3 separate regions of the Homo sapiens genome follow, and regions 2 and 3 are each linked to region 1. Evidence: promoter capture Hi-C in 16 types of primary human blood cells and fetal thymus (Javierre and others, 2016). All regions are on one chromosome and are shown on one strand. The core of a region is centred on a gene start or on the middle of the fragment in contact, and the rest is flanking DNA. Distances in the headings are between cores, read along the strand shown. Region 1 holds the start of ZNF468 (zinc finger protein 468). Region 2 holds the start of ZNF615 (zinc finger protein 615). Region 3 holds the start of ZNF350 (zinc finger protein 350).

Region 1 (2,700 bases), core at 168-2,667:
ACATAAGCAAATTATTTCAATCAAGAAATACATGGGTGGACAGCTGAGGTGGTTCACACCTGTAATTCCAGCACTTTGGGAGGTGGAGGTGGGTGGATTACCTGAGGTCAGGAGTTTGAGACCAACCTGGCCAACATGGTGAAACCCTATCTCTACTAGAAATACAAAAATTAGCTGGGCTCCATCCTTGCAACTTATTTAACCTCCTGTTGGTCCTTCTCCCCAATCTTTAGATCGTCCTCAATCTCCATAGATTTCTGCCTCTTCTCCCATCTATGCGCCTCCTCTGCTCTCCCTGTTAAATTCTCTCTTCTCTGTTATAACCCCCTGGACCCAATCTGGCACCCCAGATCCCCAGGTGTCCTCCCCGCTGTGCTTCTCCCTCTGTTCTCCTTGCCACCAGCACCACTCTGCTCTGTCTGACCCGGCTCCACATCCCTCCTCCTCTCCCTCACTCTGATGAGCCTCCACATTTCTGCCCCTCTCCCTACCTTGCTGTCCTTCATCTCTCTGTACATCTAGCTTTTCTCTACATTTCTCCAGTTGCTTTTCTCCTCCTGCTTTCTTATCTTTTATCACTTTTGCTGTCTCTTGGCAAATCCCTCACCCATCCTCTACTTTGCCATCTGTTATGGGTCTTTCTCATTCTTCTTTTCTCTGTCTCAGGTTTTCTACTGCTCTCTCAGTCCCTCTCTCTGTCTCCTGATCCCTTTGGCCCACACGATCACAAGAGGGTTTGGAGTAAGACGCCTGCATCTCGGAGAAGCGCATTTTCCAAGTGCTGGAGCTGGGCGGGCAAGAACACCCCGCGTCACAGGACAAGCCCCAGGCACCTCTCCAACGAGGGCTCAGGGGACGCGGTGACTGCGGAGGGGAGATCTGGGGAGCAGCAGGGCCCAGCAAGAGGAGGAGGGAGGTGGGGAGCGACGACGCCTTCGGACAAGGGTGGGATCCGCAGGATCCCAGGACCACAGAACGCAGCCTTCCCGGGACTGGGGTCGCCGCGCTGTGCTCCAGGAACCCAGGAGAGTAAGGCTGGGAGGCGCACAGGGTGGGAATACACCTCTAGGGTGAGGACTTTAAAAAGAGCCGTGCGGAAGGAGTCAAAAAACGGTTTTGAGCAGGAAAACTACGCGATAGGAAACGTATACATTGCCCTATGGCAGAAAGACCCGGGACGGGACCAGCCTCAGGGCGACTTTAAACCTAAAAAGAAGGGGCTTCCGGACTCCCAGTAGAACATCTCCATTTGCTCTGAGTGAAGGAAGAAAGGCGAGAACTTCCAGGTCTATGGGGACCCCACATCCCATGTACAGAAGTGCCGGGGACCTGGGAAGCTCAGACTTAACACCACACAGAGCAAAACTCACCGCCCGCCGCGGCGTGACCGTCATTCCACGGGATCCACTTCCTGGTCTGCGCGAATCTGCGCGCGCAGGACAGAAACCAGGCCTGGGTGGAGCCAACGAGGAGGCGAGCGGGGCCCGGGTGAGGTGTGGGCGGGGCGCGAAGCGGCGAGACCTTGCCCTTTAGAACCCGCAGAGGGCGGGGCCGGAGCGGGACCTGTGCATCTCTCAGCCTCCTCCCAACCCGTTCTCCGGGTTTTGGCGGCGAGAGCCCCCAGGAAGGCAGACGGATAATTCAAAAGCCCTGGAATAGTCTGGAAGGAGGATGCAAACTAGAATGTAAAATGCAAAGCCCTTTCTGGGCGGAACGTAGGATTTCATGCTGATGGCCCACAGGACAGTATAGAAATCTTCTCCCTTTCTATTCTCCATTCACTCAGGAGGGAGAGTCCACCCAGTGCTCAGCTTCAGAGACATCCCTAGGGCCACAGCCTGGGATGCCAGACGGAGTGCTCAGGCCAGGGAGGAGTGAGGTCACCACCTGCTGCTTAAACACAGCAGGGATGCGGGCGTGGGAGCCTGAGGTCCCAGCTACTCAGGAAGCAGCGGCGGGAGGATCGCTCAGCCTGGGGGTCCAGGACAGCCTGCGCGACAATGTAACATTCCCTCCCGCAGTCTCTCTCTTTTTTAAATTTTTAAAATAAAATTTTTATTAGGCCGGGCACGGTGACTCACGCCTGTAATCCCAGCACTTTGGGAGGCTGAGGCGGGCGGATCACGAGGTCAGGAGATCGCGACCATCCTGGCTTACACGATGAAACCCCGTCTCCACTAAAAATACAAAAATTAGCCGGGCGTGGTGGCGGGCGCCTGTAGTCCCAGCTACTCAGGAGGCTGAGGCAGGAGAATGCGGTGAACATGGGAGGTGGAGCTTGCAGTGGGCCGAGACCGAGCCACTGCACTCCAGCCTGGGCGACAGAGCCAGACTCCCTCTCTAAAAATAAATAAACAAACTAAATTTGCTTGTGTGAGATAGGAATACAACATTACTCTTCTCCATATGGATATCCAGTTAGTTGTCCCAGCACATTTGTAAAAGAGATCTGTTACTTTCTCCTTTTTATTTACATTTTTTCTTTTTCTTCTTCTTCTTCTTTTTTTTTTTTTTTTTGAGACTGAGTATTTCTCTGTCGCCCAGGCTGGAGTACAATGGTGACATCTCGGCTCACTGCAGCCTCTGCCTCCTGGGTTGAAGCGATTCTTCTGCCTCAGCCTCCGGAGTAGCTGGCATTACAGGCACACCCACCATGCCCGGCTAATTTTTGTATTTTGGGTACAGACGGGGTTTCATCAT
Region 2 (2,700 bases), core at 120-2,619, 850 kb before region 1:
TTGTAATACTAAGAATTAAGATGACCAAATATAAAATAAATATTTAAAATTAATTTATCTTTTGTTATAGATTATAAGGAAAGGGGAGTCAGAAAGCAATACACTGCAATAAAAGTAATAGTCTAGATTGAAGATTAAAGGCAGGAAAAACAAAATTCATGGATAAATGGATAATCATAAAATGTTCCTAAAAATAATACCTAAACATTTTAAAACATTTCACTTCTATCCAAATGTACGCATAAACTTAATGTGAATGCACTTATAGTACCACCGGCTCAAACAGTAAAAACAACTTCTAAATGTTTATTACATAATATAAAGCGAAAAAGATAATAGTACCATTTACATAATTTATCTGAATTATGAATATTAAGCACATAACATACACGTCTAAAATTGAAATATTCTGAAAATTTGACAAAGGTTATCTTTGAGTAACCGAGCTTACCATGGCAGAGATGTTATCTTACTTGTGTCAGAAAGAACCTGAAAAGAAATATCCAAGAGGATACGCTGGAAACTTGCAGGACAAAGGGTAGAAGCCGCATCTTAAATATAAAACATACTACTTTTAGGTATGCTAGATGACTGATCTCGCCAAAAACTTCCATTTCTGAGGATTCAAGACCAAGGGGTGATGGAAGGTGCCAAAGGGGATTTAAAAACCAGTCGTGGAGAAGGGTCTTGGGCAGAAGGGGAATGCTAATGAGCATCAATTCTGTTCCAGCAGCCAGGGCTGGGGCTAACCCATCACCTGCCATGGTTCCCAGGCCTCCAGAGCTGCAGCCCACATCGGAATCTGTGGCGCTACCACCACCGCCACCGGGATTAATTCCAAAACCTGGATCAGAAACCTCCGTACCTTAACCCCCAAGACAGTTCCTCAATCATTTAGTCCCAAACAAAACCTGAACCATAAACCGATTCGCTGACAAAACAAACCCTCCAGTTCGCAATCACTGAGCCCCGCCAAAGGACAACACCAAAGACACCAGAATGTGACTTGGGCACTCAGTAGCGGATCTCTAGAGATCTTTAACCACAAACTACACGAGGACCCTGTGACTGGTCCCAGAGGTACCCCGATCACACACACACACACCCTATCACGGACCTCTTGTAGTTCCCCTGCGATAGGAATCGGACCCACGCTAAGCTCCTGAAAGAATTCCACTGGCGTCGCCAAACGCTGGCGCCGACAGATACCAGTCCATCACCACTGTCCACGAACACGCCCAGCCACGGACAGAATTTCCTCCCCCGTCACCACAGCGACCACCCAGTGACTGAACTTACTTCCCAGAACTTGGTGGGCTCCGGCCTCATCTCTCGGCCTCCTCAGTGCCTGACGGCGACTATCCAGGGTCGGAGGCGTTCCCAGCGTTTGCGCAGATGCAAGATGGCCGCGCCCTCGTCGCCTTGGCTCCATGGGGGCCGCCATCTTTGAGTATCTGACGTACACAAGGCAAAGGGCGCGTTTTGGCGCTGGTGACCGGGGGTGACCGGGGGTGACCGGGGATGGCCGGGAAGATGAAAGAGCACTGAAACTGTCCCATTTCCTGGCACCTCAACCCTTCATAAATACGGGTCCATATACAGAGGCTCCAGTTTACACAAGACAAAAATGGCGTGGAGGTAAATCCCTTTCAGCAGCTGAATAGAAGGCTAAGATGGCCGCGACGTTTACACTTTGTACAAAGGTTAGGAAACAGTTCCTTGTGAGGGAAAAGGAGAACCGGCCGAGAGGGGACACTTCGGCCAAAGCCAGATTTCTAACAAAGTAGCTTGAAGCGCCTTTTGAACGCAGAAGAGGGCTGTTAGCTACGCTGACGGAACAGGGGTAGCAGTCACAGACTAGGTAATGAAAACGGTTGGAACGTGCCAAAATTATGTTGGGTGAAAGGCATGGGGAAAAGCCAGTAAAAGCCAGAAAGTATAGTTCCCAAGGCGGAGGGGAGAGCCTGGGACCCAGGTGGAGCCAAATATGAGGGCTGGACTCAGGAGAAGTGGCCAGAAATTAAGGGAACAGGACCACTTCAGTGAGAAAAAAAAGGTTGGGAAAGAGGCCGGGCGCGGTGGCTCACGCCTGTAATCCCAGCACTTTGGGAGGCCGAGGTGGGCGGATCACCTGAGAGCGGGAGTTCGAGACCAGCCTGACCAACATGGAGAAACCCTGTCTCTACTAAAAATACAAAATTAGCCAGGCATGGTGGCGCATGCCTGTAATCCCAGCTACTCGGGAGGCTGAGGCAGGAGAATCGCTTGAACCCGGGAGGCGGAGGTTGCTGTGGGCCAAGATGGCGTCATTGCACTCCAGCCTGGGCAACAGGAGCAAAACTCCATCTCAAAAAAAAAACAAAAGAAAGAAAGGTTAAGAAGGAGATCACGTTATACTACGTGTGCCAACCGCGAATAGTATGTGCAAAGTCATGGCAATGCTGAACTGTAAATATAAATCCAACCAAACTTCCTATATTAGAAGAATGAGAGAAAGGAAATGCCTGTGTGAATCTATGTGTGTGATATAGGTATCAGTATATAAATATACAGAGAAATTGTCAAACTATTTTTCAGAGTCAAGTTCGTGTTCCATTTGCTCTTCTCACCCTTGGTATATGAGAGTTTTTCTTTTTTTTTGTTTTTTTTTTGTCTCTTTTTGAGGCAAGGTCCACTCTGTTGCCCAGTCTGGAGTGCCTG
Region 3 (2,700 bases), core at 108-2,607, 870 kb before region 1:
ATTTTCACATACATAGTTGGCTAGAATTGCACCATACGCCTAAGCTCATTTCCATGTCAAACCTATCACTAGCAATGGCAATTGGAACCAGCAAGATTGGCTAAGACCAACAAGGCCTTACTAAGAAACTGGGATTTGGGTCGCCTTGCCACAGGGATGAATACTTCACGAAATGGAGATTCTGTTAAGAAAGTGTGAATATAAGGCGGGCAAGCAACACTCACTATATATTAAGAAGTGAAGGCCGGGCGCGGTGGCTCACGCCTGTAATCCCAGCACTTTGGAAAGCCAAGGTGGGCGGATCACCTGAGGTCAGGAGTTCGAGACCAACCTGCCCAACGTGGTAAAACCCTGTCTCTACTAAAAATACAAAAACTAGCCGGGCGTGGTGGCGTGGGCCTGTAGTCCCAGCTACTCAGGAGGCTGAGGCAGGAGAATCGCTTGAACCCGGGAGGCGGAGATTGCAGTGAGCCGAGATCGCGCCATTGCACTCCAGTCTGGGAGACAAAAGTGAAACTCCGTCTCAAAAAATAAAAAAAATAAATAAAAAATAAAAGAAGTGAATGCAGAGGTTGGCAACATTTTCGATTTTGCCGGCCACGAGGTCTCTGTCACAACAACTCAACCGCTGCCTTTGCAGCCATAGACAATATATAATCGGAGGGTATGACTGAACTTGACCCCCCGATCTGTAAATAGCCACCCCAAGGATCAGAAGAGTAGATATATGGTTTCGAACTAATGCTGGGGGCTGTGTCGCCTTTTGCCCCAGTAACCGAGGTTCGAACCTCAACCCAGGACCCAGGGCTCCAAAGTCTCGAAAGCTTCAGCCCTCACAAGCCTTTGTACCACAGACACTGGCCCCATGCCTCTTACTCATCCGAACCACGGACCAGACACTCTACAGCGATGGACATCCTCCCAGACTCCAACATCACTGAGTTCCAAATTAAATCCTGAACCCGAAGCAGACGCCGCATCGATCCTAATCGCCACCTCCATCCTTTACAAGCAGAGTGATCCATACCTTGACAGTTAGGACACGGCCGTTGATCACTACAGACCCTTAGTCACTGTACTCACACCAAAGGCACGCGGACCACAGACAGGGGGATCACAGACTCCCACCAGGTACCTCCCAAATGCCTATACCCCGGCGCTCCCCAGTCTTCCTGCCAAAAACTATGTGGTCCAGGGTACACCACGTCCTCAGATCTCCCAAACCTTCCACTGAGACAAAACCTGAACTAGGACAAAAAACTTTCAGGGACAAAACCACACACTGACCTCTATTTTCTCCAGATACACAAGAAGGGCCTCAACGTTACACTTCCGTAAACTGCTCCTACTTCTGGAGTCCTCGCACGGGTTTATGGTCCACCTACGGCGGCCGAGGAGAACCTAAAATGTTTAAAAGAGCAAGGACAAGCGCATTTACGGCATTTCCTACTCTGTAAAATGGCCGCGCCCATAGCCGTGGCTCCTGACGGCAGCCATGTTTGAAAATTGGACGCACAGAAGGCAGTGGCAGGTTTTTGAGCCAGGAGCCAGGGAAGAAGAGAAGTCACTGAAATCGCCTCGTTTCCTGGCACTTAAAGTCTTGCGAAAGGGGGCAGATTTTCAGAGACTCAGGCTTTATCAGGCAAATATGGGGCAAGCTAAATTGCCTTTAGCGCTTTTCCATCCACTTTGTTAAATTTAAAAAAAAAGGTTTTGAAAAAGACAAGTAACAGTGCAGCCAGGTGTAGGTATCCCAGAGAATGAATTGGAAATGGAAAAGGTAACAGATCAGGTAGAAAGGGAAAAGGCAACACATCAGGTAGGCAGACACCCACGGGAAAGCGTCTGGCGAAAATTAGCTTGCAGGAAGCGGTTTTTAAGAACAGAAAAATAGCAGGTATTCGGGGGGGCGGGTGGTGAAGAAAGAAAAAAATTATAATTTTTTTTGAGACGGAGTCTTGCTCTGTCGCCAGGCTGGAGTGCAGTGGCGAGATCTGGGCTCACTGCAACCTCTGCCTCCCTGGTTCAAGCGATTCTCCTGCCTTAGCCTCCCAAGTAGCTGGGACTACAGGCACGCGCCACCACGCCCAGCTAATTTTTGTATTTTTAGTAGAGACTGGCTTTCACCATGTTGGCCAAGATGATCTCGACCTCCTGACCTCGTGATCTGCCTGTCTCGGCCTCCCAAAGTGCTGGGATTACAGGTGTGAGCCACCGCGCCTGGCCTCGAAAAAATGATTATTATTTACAAAAAAGAAGAAGAAGAAGGAGGAAGAGGAGGAGGAGAAGGAAGAGAAAAGAGGAGAAAAGAAGAGAAAAGAGGAGAGGAGAGGAGAGAAAAGAGATTTTGAGAATGAATTACGATGTGAGCCTGGCCACGACAGACTAAAGGAATTGGGCCTCCTAGAAAGGCCACTTTTAGTAAAGGTGCCAATGGGAAGAGCAGAGCCAGAATTGAGAGTATAAAAATATTGTTAAGAGTTTTTGACAAAAGTGCCAAGACAATTCAATAAGAATAGTCTTTTCAACAAGCGGCACTGGGATAATTGGATATCCACATCCAGAAAAATGAGTTAGGACCCTCAAACCATACACAAAAGTTAACTCAAAATAGATCATAGATCTAAGTTTAAGAGAAAGTATAAAACTTAGAGAAGGAAAAGGGAGATAATCCTCATGGACGTGAGTTAATTCTGAGAG

What was found. The method cuts DNA at HindIII sites, captures the fragments that hold promoters and counts their contacts. A CHiCAGO score of 5 or more calls a contact.
Region 2: the fragment with the promoter of ZNF615 here is called in contact with the fragment with the promoter of ZNF468 in region 1 in 9 of 17 cell types (neutrophils, naive CD4 T cells, total B cells and 6 more); the score reaches 13.5 in neutrophils.
Region 3: a contact is called between the fragment with the promoter of ZNF350 here and the fragment with the promoter of ZNF468 in region 1, in 12 of 17 cell types (total CD4 T cells, naive CD8 T cells, naive B cells and 9 more). The highest score is 16.3, in total CD4 T cells.

Annotation. Positions count from the first base shown.
Region 1 is chr19:52,856,202-52,858,901 of GRCh38, forward strand. ZNF468 (zinc finger protein 468) reads right to left here and starts at 1,418. Exons shown (of 4, transcript NM_001008801.2): 1 at 1,371-1,418. RefSeq lists an enhancer at 1,017-1,096. The HindIII fragment of the contact is 10,660 bases long and covers 1-2,700 here.
Region 2 is chr19:52,006,842-52,009,541 of GRCh38, forward strand. ZNF615 (zinc finger protein 615) reads right to left here and starts at 1,370. Exons shown (of 7, transcript NM_001199324.2): 1 at 1,300-1,370; 2 at 452-489. LOC124904755 (a long non-coding RNA gene) reads left to right here and starts at 1,457. Exons shown (of 2, transcript XR_007067321.1): 1 at 1,457-1,638. RefSeq lists enhancers at 1,131-1,740, 1,801-1,880. The HindIII fragment of the contact is 6,775 bases long and covers 1-2,700 here.
Region 3 is chr19:51,985,483-51,988,182 of GRCh38, forward strand. ZNF350 (zinc finger protein 350) reads right to left here and starts at 1,358. Exons shown (of 5, transcript NM_021632.4): 1 at 1,288-1,358. RefSeq lists enhancers at 823-1,698, 1,285-1,524. The HindIII fragment of the contact is 6,623 bases long and covers 823-2,700 here.